Linked DNA regions of Homo sapiens: region 2 is linked to region 1. The links are contacts of gene promoters, found by promoter capture Hi-C in blood cells and fetal thymus (Javierre and others, 2016). All regions are on one chromosome and are shown on one strand. Each heading gives the region's core, a stretch centred on a gene start or on the middle of the fragment in contact. The rest is flanking DNA. Distances are from core to core; before and after follow the strand shown.

Evidence for each region. Contacts are between HindIII fragments. The CHiCAGO score rates a contact against its expected background, and 5 or more counts as called.
Region 2: a fragment that was not itself captured here is called in contact with the fragment with the promoter of TIGD6 in region 1 in 5 of 17 cell types (megakaryocytes, endothelial precursors, M2 macrophages and 2 more); the score reaches 11.9 in megakaryocytes.

Annotation. Positions count from the first base shown.
Region 1 is chr5:149,998,841-150,003,516 of GRCh38, reverse strand. It overlaps TIGD6 (tigger transposable element derived 6), which reads left to right and starts at 2,863. Exons shown (of 2, transcript NM_030953.4): 1 at 2,863-3,043. HMGXB3 (HMG-box containing 3) reads right to left here and starts at 2,778. Exons shown (of 20, transcript NM_014983.3): 1 at 2,338-2,778. RefSeq lists enhancers at 1,884-1,963, 2,851-3,639 and a silencer at 3,044-3,123. The HindIII fragment of the contact is 5,274 bases long and covers 1,252-4,676 here.
Region 2 is chr5:150,122,770-150,127,242 of GRCh38, reverse strand. It overlaps PDGFRB (platelet derived growth factor receptor beta), which reads left to right. Exons shown (of 23, transcript NM_002609.4): 11 at 629-723; 12 at 1,666-1,798; 13 at 2,412-2,516; 14 at 2,883-2,993; 15 at 4,042-4,201. Among named protein-coding and RNA genes, the nearest start is that of PDGFRB, 31 kb to the left of the region's middle. The HindIII fragment of the contact is 2,452 bases long and covers 1,259-3,710 here.

The DNA.
Region 1 (4,676 bases), core at 1,614-4,113:
TACCTCAGCCTCCCAAAGTGCTGTAATTACAAGCGTGAGCCACCACATCTAGCCTCTGTTAAAGACTATTATCTGTGTCTGAGATGCTTAACAACCTTCCCAAGGCCACCAAGCCCAAGCAGGGACTTGAGAGATAGATTTTTAACTCAAAAATCCAACTCCCTGGGCCTTCTTTCATTATGCTACACTGCTATCCATCTCTACTGGCAACCCTCCAAACCAGCACTGTTCAATAAACTCTGATGATGGAAATGTTCTACATCTGTGCTGTCAAATATAGTAGCCACCAGCCACATATGGCTATCGAGCACTTGAAATATGGCTAGTGTGACTGAAGAATTGAATTAGTTTTATTTTTAAATTTATTTATTTTTAAGACAAGGTCTCACTCTGTCCCCTGGGCTGCAGTGCAGTGATGAGATCCTGTCTCACTGCAGTCTCCACCTCCCAGGCTCAAGTGATCTTCCCACCTTGGCCTCCCAAGTAGCTGGGACTACACATGTGCACCACCAAGTCTGGCAAATTTTTAAATTGTTTGTAGAGATGAGATCTCATTATATTATCCAAGCTGGTCTCAAACTCCTAGGCTCAAGCAATCCTCCTGCCTTGGCCTCCCAAAGTGCTGGGATTACAGGCATGAGCCACCACCACACCTGGCCAATTGTAATTAACTGAAATAGCAACATATGCTAGGAGCTAGAGACAGCACAGATCTAAACAGTCATCTGACCAACCAACATCAGCTCTCTGGTGCTGGGCTAAAAAACAGAGAATCTACTAACAGCTTTTATGTCTAGGAAAAGAGGCATAAAAAACTTAATAACCAGTTCAAGAAGAGTTAGTTTTTTTTGTAGCCAAGTTCTAAATTGGACTTTTACCACAAGTCTCAATCCTTGGAGGGAGAAAGGCTCACAGAAACCACTTGAATTTTACAAGAGGAAATAACATAGTTGCCCCTGAAAATCTGTCAGGAGGAAATTTAGAATTCTGGGAAGAGGCAGTTGTGGTGGTAAATATGGGACTGATACGTGCAGTACAAAGCCCACACACCTCTCATTTAGACCTCACTCCACAAATAAGGTATAATGAGCACTGCATGTGGAGTCAAGAGACCTAAACTCTAACCTTATGATCTCAGAGAAGTCTATTCCACATCCTAAATTTCAACTGTTTCTACTGTGAGAAAAGGATGAACCCAGTGGCTCCTAGTCTTTTGGAGGCAAGAATTCTTTTGACAATGTTGCGAAAGCTTAAAAAAACAAACAACTACAACAACAAAAAACCTCTCCTAGAAATTGCAGACACACTGTATTTCACCTATAATTTTCAGGATATACCCCAGGTAAAGCACACATTATTCCTTAGGTTCTTCCTAGTTCTCTGTCATCTCTAAATGATTCCTCTTCCTATTAAAAACAAAAACTAAACTAACAAAGAAAAACAAAACAAAAACCTACATTCTAACTGCCATAGTGCAACCCAGGAAGAGAACACAGTCTACAACTTGGCTGGGTAAGCAATAGGCCAGTAAAGGATAAGGGAAGCAGTAGTTCAAATCAAGGCTACGTGGGGACTGCGCTTTTTTGCCCTGAATTGACTTCTGGGCGGCTGAAAGCCTTGTGGAGAAGGGCAGTAACTGCAGGAGAGCATCTGTAATGAATGGCATATAGGGTACTAAGCACCCTGCGCAAAACGGGTTAGGAAACACTCATTACAGCCACCTTGGGCTGAGGGCAGGAAGACAACACCCTACGGTTTTGTTTGTTTTATTACCCTGTTCTAAGCCTGAGTACAAGTTTGTTATCAGACTCGAGGCAGCAGTATAGCAATGCAAAAAAAGGCAGGACAATTTAAGGTTAAAAACGAAGGGCTCTAGAGGACAGAAAATCCGGGTTCTAGTACAGACTACACCAGTCGCACCAGCACGGGGACCTCTGACCTTAAGCAATCTACTTACCCTAAGTCTCCGTTATTTCATCTGTAAAACAGAGTTAAGGTCAATACCTGAAATATGCGAGACACTTTCTCTGTCCCATCAGATCCTCCTTGGAATCTCACGAGATTGCCTTTGAGGGCTCAGCCATGGGCCACAGTTTGACTCTGGGCTAGCTCCTTTCCCTCATTCTGGGTCATGAATGAAGCAAGAGCCAAACCAGACAAAGTCTTGGTCAAGCTAAGACGTCTGGGACATCCGAATGTCCCATACGGATTGCGGAAGGAGGACACTAAGGCTCAGTGGCCCTACTTTGTGGAAGACTCAGTAGAGGCTCAGAGAGCCGCAGCATCCAACTCGAGGTCGCCCAGCGGCTCGGCGCGGCCCTCGAAGGCGGGACTTACCCGGAGGAGCGTGCAAGCTGCGCCGCTCACATTCCCGGAGGCGCTTGGCCCGGCGGCTGGACGAGGGGGATGGCTGGCGCACTCGCGCTCCCCGCTGTCGGCGAGAGGCGGCTCCAGTCGTGACAGCAGCAACAAGGAAGTGGAGGCGAGGGCTCGCGCGCGCATCCCGGGGGCTGAAGGAGCCCCGGCCCCGCGGCCCCGCCCGGCGACACACGGCGCGGAGTCGCGACAGCCCCTCTCGCTTCCCCTCCTCGGAGTCGCGATATGGGGTCCTGAAGGGCAAGAATAGGAGCACAGGTTCGCTCCGCAGGCTCCTCACCGATGCCTGCCGAGGGCCCCGGGGGTCAAGCCCCGGGGAGCTCGAGGAAGACGGCAGGGACACGGTCGTCACCGAGGCACCGGTTTGGCGGCTGCACCGGCAGTAGCGGCACACCACGGATCGCCAGGGAGACCCGTCCCGGCGGCCCTCGCGGCGCACCGGAAGCGGTCGGCAGCGCGTGACTGCATGCGACCCCTGGCGCAAGCGCAACAGCCCAGCCCTAGCTTGGGAGCGGACCCACACGAACTGCTCAAAGGCTTGGAGCGGGTCTAGTAAGGCGAACGGACTGCTTCCGGCCAGAGGTCCCGGGCGGAGGAGGAAGCTGTGGCTGCCGGCGGTGGGACGCCCCGGCCGCTCAGCCCCCGGGCACTGCTGTGGGGCGTTCAGGTAACAGGGGCGGGGCTGTGCTGAGCGTGAGGGATCTAGGCCCCGCCTCACCTTTCAGAGCCACGTCGGGCGCTGGGAAGCCTACAATACCACCCTCTCCTCAGCACGACGTTCAAGGCCTGACCTCAGCCTGTCTCAGTCTTTCCCTCTCATTCAGGATCGGGTTCATACGTAGTGCCGCATCAAGTAGCGCCTTCATCACTCCAGTGATCTGCCCTCAATCCGTCTCTCCCACTGGCCCACGAATAGTGATGGTAGTGAGTTCCTGGAGTGACTCAAGCTGAGCTGAATGACCGTATGGAGAGCTTCCGTAAATCAAATAGGGATTGGATTGGATTGTCCTTTCTCTCCAGTGTCACAAGTTGTCCACATTTGTACAAGTTCCCGCACAACCCTCACTGTATTCCAGTCTGCCTACTTCTCTGCATCTACCGCCATCACCAACCTTCTAGCCACCATCATCTCCTGCCTGGACTGATGTAGTTCTCCCCACATCCCCTCTACAATCCATTCTCCACGAAGCAGTCAGATTGATCATTTTGCACTGTAAGTCTGATCAAGTCACTCCCTGCTTAAAACCCTCCAGTGTCTCATTCACTTAAAATAAAATTCAGACGTCTTAGCTTGACCAAGACTTGTCTGATTTGGCTCTTGCTTCATTCTCTTTCTATGTCTCCTCTCAATATTAGTAGTTCCCAGAACCAGCTATATAGCACTCTGTAGTGTTTGGAGTGCTAGCTTTGTTGTGAGCCTCCTGGGTTTGAATCCCAGCCCTGCCACAAGTAAGCAATATTAAGCAAGTAAAGTGCTTAACAAATGAGGTTTACGCAGTAGATCCTCCCACCTCAGTAAATGGCACCATCATCTGCTGGATTCCTCAGTGCTCAAACCAGAAACCTGGGCGTTATCCTTGACTCCTCCTTCACCTCACATCCGGTCCAGCACAGGGCTTGCAAAAACATAGCCCCAGACTGACTACTACTCACCATCTCTCTATTACTACTCTAATCCAAGCCACCATTATCTCATGTGGACTCCTGCTTTTTTCTCTGATACCCTTCCATTCTTTACACAGCAGTCATCTCTCCTTCCTTAAAATCCTTCAATAGCTTCCTATTGCACTCAAATTAACATCCAAACTGTATATGGCCTACTGGTTTAGCCTGCTTTTATCTTCAGATTTAAGGCCATCTCTTAGGAAAATCAACTTTACCCATTAGGTTCTCTACCCTGCAACCAAAAGACTATATTGTAAATCTGATCATGTCATTCCAGAAAAACAAAACCAAAAAACCGTCAAAAGCCTCTTAATGCCCCCAAAGCAAGCTAGAAACCTGACTAGGACTTCCTGTGATTTGGTCCTTGCTTTCTTCTCCAAAGAATTTTTTGTTCCTGACCAGGACATTCTATTTCCTATATAGTATTTCATTGCCTTTCATGTTAAATATTTCCTTTCATCTCATGAGTTCCTATTTGTTTATTCTTTAAGGCCCACCATATTATTCCCTCTTTGAAGTGCACTGCCCATCCATGCTCCATTCCAGTTGATTATCTGCACATTTATGTTCCAGTAGTACTCCGTAACCTCTGATTTAGTTTTCACATGCTCTAGTGTTTGTCTTCCCTGGTAGGC
Region 2 (4,473 bases), core at 1,235-3,734, 120 kb before region 1:
ACTCGAGGCTTGTAAGGGCCAGTGTGAGCCCCACTTTGTTAACTACCGTCACCACTCCAACCCCAACTGGGCCCTTTGGGTGAAGTGGGGAGAAGTGGCCTCCGTGCTGAGGTCTGGATTCATCAGGCTGGGGGTCTCAGCCATTGCTCCCTCAGTGGCCACTCACTCAGTCCACCGGCCACTCGGTCAGGCATGGAGCTTGGAGTCTGACCGAGCTGTGGCAGCCCCAGCAAGGGTGTGGACTCAGAGGAGAGGTAAGCCACAACCCAGCCCTCAGGGGCTCCAGGGCTAATGGGAGGTCCAGGCAATGGACAGGAACTCAGAACAGGATTTGCACCCCGTCCAGAGCTCTGGCAGCAAGGCCAGACTGACTGGCAGGGCTGAAGGGACGTGGAGGCCAGCAGTGATCTGAGTGGGGGTAGTTACTGAGGGGATGGAGTATTTACAGGACAGTCTGAACGTGTGGCCTAGAGCGAGATGCTGAGGGTCTGACACTGCAGGCTGATGGGGAGGTGGGCGCTTCTATTCTGGACAGGATGTGTACGGAGGGATCTATGATGCCAAAGATGGGGTGAGGGGAGGGTAGCTGCCCAGTTTGCTCATGGCCTGCTCTCATCTCTGCCTCCAGCCTTGCCCTTTAAGGTGGTGGTGATCTCAGCCATCCTGGCCCTGGTGGTGCTCACCATCATCTCCCTTATCATCCTCATCATGCTTTGGCAGAAGGTAAGCCCCTCCCTGGCCCAGTGGGTGAAGACTGGCACATCATTATTTTGCATAAATTCCACCCCTCTGCCCTCCTTGAATGCTGCGTGATCTGGCCACATGCAGGGCTCAGCATGGAACTCAGGTGGGGACTTGTGACGCTGGCTGTCTCAGCTTCCTCCACCCCCAGCAGTCTGGGCCAACCTGAGCCTGGCCCGAGCTATCCAGGATTCCCTTCCCCTACTGTGTCATTAAGTCCCCGGGTCCTGCTGAGACACCATTCCTCTCATCCTAGCCATGGAGCATGGGACCTTTGAGGTGGACTGCATGGGCTCCAGGATTCTTCCAGGTCTCACCCATGGAGAACCTGTGATTCTACTGAAATGCATTCTGATCCTATTAGTCTGTAATTTCAGTGTTCTGCTTTGAGATTTTACCATTCTGTGATTCCAACATTTTAAGCTTCCTGAATCAGGATTACAGCACCTCATGATCCCATCTTTCTAAAATTCCAGTCCTGTGGTTCCAACACCTTAAGATGTCAACATTCTAAGCTTACATCTTTCTGACTTGCCCAGCACTGGGGAGGGCCATCCGCATCCAGCCGAGTACCCTACCTGGTGTCACTTTCTGGGGTCACCTGCTCTACTACTTCCATCTGAGGAGCAGCGAAGGCTGGGAGAGAAGCTAGAGAGGAGGTTCTCATGAGCCAGGCCCTCAGCTGCCAGTTGCTCCTCAGTCTGCCAAGTCCTGAAGCCTCCTCTGGGGCCCCTTGGTCCCTGTTCCCTCCGAGCCCACGAAGACCTTGGCTCAGTTGAGCACTTGCTGTGTGACTTCAAATATGCCCCTGCCCCTCTCTGGGCCTCAGGGTCTCCTGCCCCATGTGTCCTAGACGGACGAACCTAATGGGGCTCAGGGCCTGAGACTCCCTCTGATAACTAATTCCTGGGGTTGGTCCTCCAGAAGCCACGTTACGAGATCCGATGGAAGGTGATTGAGTCTGTGAGCTCTGACGGCCATGAGTACATCTACGTGGACCCCATGCAGCTGCCCTATGACTCCACGTGGGAGCTGCCGCGGGACCAGCTTGTGCTGGGTCAGTCCTGAGAGGCCTCATGTGGCAGTGTGGGGACTCAAGTTGGGTGGGAAGACTCTCTGAGGTCTGGTCCCAGCCTTGCCATGACTAGCTATGAGACCTAGGGCTGGTGTCTTGCCTTCTCTGGCCCTCCATCTCCTACTATGTACAATGAGAGCAAGACCATCCCCCAGGAACTGCCTAGCATTGAGGTTCTATGATCCTGTGACCCTGTGAGACGGGATCCCTATGTGGCAAAAGTGGAAGGATTGAGGACAGGCTGAGTAGCAGGCCTGGTCTGGCTGGGGAAGCTGAGGAGGTACAGAGAAGCGTGCTCCCTTGGGAGGGAAGAAACTTTCCAGAGATTAAAGATGGGGCAGAAAGCAGGCAGGACTTAGATGAGATACCAGGAAAGACAGGGAGGTATTGTGGTTGCAGGAGTGTGTTTAGGGAATATCCTGAGTCCAAGGTGGTTTAAGTAATGTCTAGGTTGACCTAAGAGAGTGGCTCTTTCCCCTCACTGGGCAGGAAGGGTGATAGCGGCCGGGGGTAGGGGAGTGGGGGGAGGGGGGCAGCTGGGGGAGCGGTGCAGCTTCCTGGTAGGCCAGGAGCTAATGGATCATCTCTGCACCAGGACGCACCCTCGGCTCTGGGGCCTTTGGGCAGGTGGTGGAGGCCACGGCTCATGGCCTGAGCCATTCTCAGGCCACGATGAAAGTGGCCGTCAAGATGCTTAAATGTGAGTAGTCCTTGGAGCCCTCCACATCTGGGCCTTCACCTCTCCCTGCCCCTCCCCACACACTTAGCCTCTCCCAGGGTGGCCTGATGCTGATTTGCAGGCACTAGAGGGGCCATCACACTGCAGCAGGCACTGCTCCCGAGTCTGGGTCTGGTTTGGGAAAGAGCGTTCCTCTCCCTGGCCTCCTCGGCCTGCTTCCCCCTACCCTGGCCTCTTCCCCTCCTCAGAGTGTGGGTGCTCACCCCCGCCAGGCTGCCTGGGTCTTGCAGCACAGGGCGGGGCAGAAGAGTCAGAATAGGCTCCTGTGGTGGGGCCTCCATGGAGCCTCCATGACTGGGCCTGGCCTGGGGCCCCCATTTTCCTCAGCCACAGCCCGCAGCAGTGAGAAGCAAGCCCTTATGTCGGAGCTGAAGATCATGAGTCACCTTGGGCCCCACCTGAACGTGGTCAACCTGTTGGGGGCCTGCACCAAAGGAGGTACCGAGCCCACTGCCCCAGAGGCCTCAGGGAAAGTGCCCACCACCAAGGCCAGGCCCCGCCTACCCCCCCCTCAGGCCTTGCACAACAGCACACTCCTGCTGGAGGGTCCGTGCCCACCCGCTCCAGCGCCCTCACTGCGCGGTCCCAGAGGGCGGTGGGGTTTAGAAACTCACAAAATCACAACACCTTCAAGGCTGAAGGATTAGTCAGGTCACCAGTCCCAGCAGCTTCCAGACCATGGTGTTGGCTGACACTTTTTTATTTTCCCAATACATTTTGAAAACCAATAAATAACAGCTCACATGACATTAAGATGAGTTATATGCCCACCATTGGAGACCACCAGCTTGCTACTTGGGAGCTACCTTCATTTGATCATAGAAGAAAGTCTCTGTGGCCAACTGGGTCTATTTGAAGCTCTGATTGCCAGTTAGGCTGAAAAAAAATGTTATCACCATTTGCAGCTGCTTATTGTGAGATTTGGGATTTTCCTCAGCATTATGCAACCAAAATAAAATACAGAAGTATGTTGGGTACATAGACTTATTCACGTTTGCAATGATCGCTCATTTCAACATTTTCGTTTGTGTAGATATCTTCAAGTTCTCACTGATTGACTTTAAGTAAATGCATTGTAGTTGAATTTAACTACTAAAGTGATCGTTGTAAACAGTGGCCTTTATCTGCTTTCTATACTGGGCTCCAAAGTAAGCTTTAGTTTGAAAACATATCAATAAGAGCCAACACTGCGAGCTCGCCACGTGCCCAGCCAATAAAGACATCATCTCATTAATCCTCATGACAGTGCTTTGTGGTGGGTTTAATTAGCCCCACTTAACAGCTGGGGAAGGTAAGGCTCAGGGAGACTAAGTACCTTGCTCTCCACCACAGAGGCAGGAAAAGAATCCAGATTTGCAAGGCACTAAAGCCTCCTAGCCGTCATGCCAAAGTGTCTCTCCCACATCCAGCCCCTGATTAGCCTCATGGCCTTGAAGGGACGCCTGAGGCCTCCATAGGGACTGTCCCTGAGCCTGTCCCTCTGCAGGACCCATCTATATCATCACTGAGTACTGCCGCTACGGAGACCTGGTGGACTACCTGCACCGCAACAAACACACCTTCCTGCAGCACCACTCCGACAAGCGCCGCCCGCCCAGCGCGGAGCTCTACAGCAATGCTCTGCCCGTTGGGCTCCCCCTGCCCAGGTACCAGGAGGGAGGCCAGGGACTGAATCTTTGGGATACCTGAGGAGCACCGCTCCTTCCCCTCCTTTTGTCCAGGAGGGGAAGCTGAGGCTGTGACAGGGCAGGGGACAGAATCACTCCTGGAGCTAGGGCTGTTCCACAAGATGGTCCACCCCAGATGAGGGAATAACACTAATGCCAGGCCCTGTGCTGCTAAGCCCTCTACAGATGTGACATGCCATCCCTGTGTCGTGGGTGTTTGCCCTTCAGTCCAGGGCAGGCAGTGATGGAGG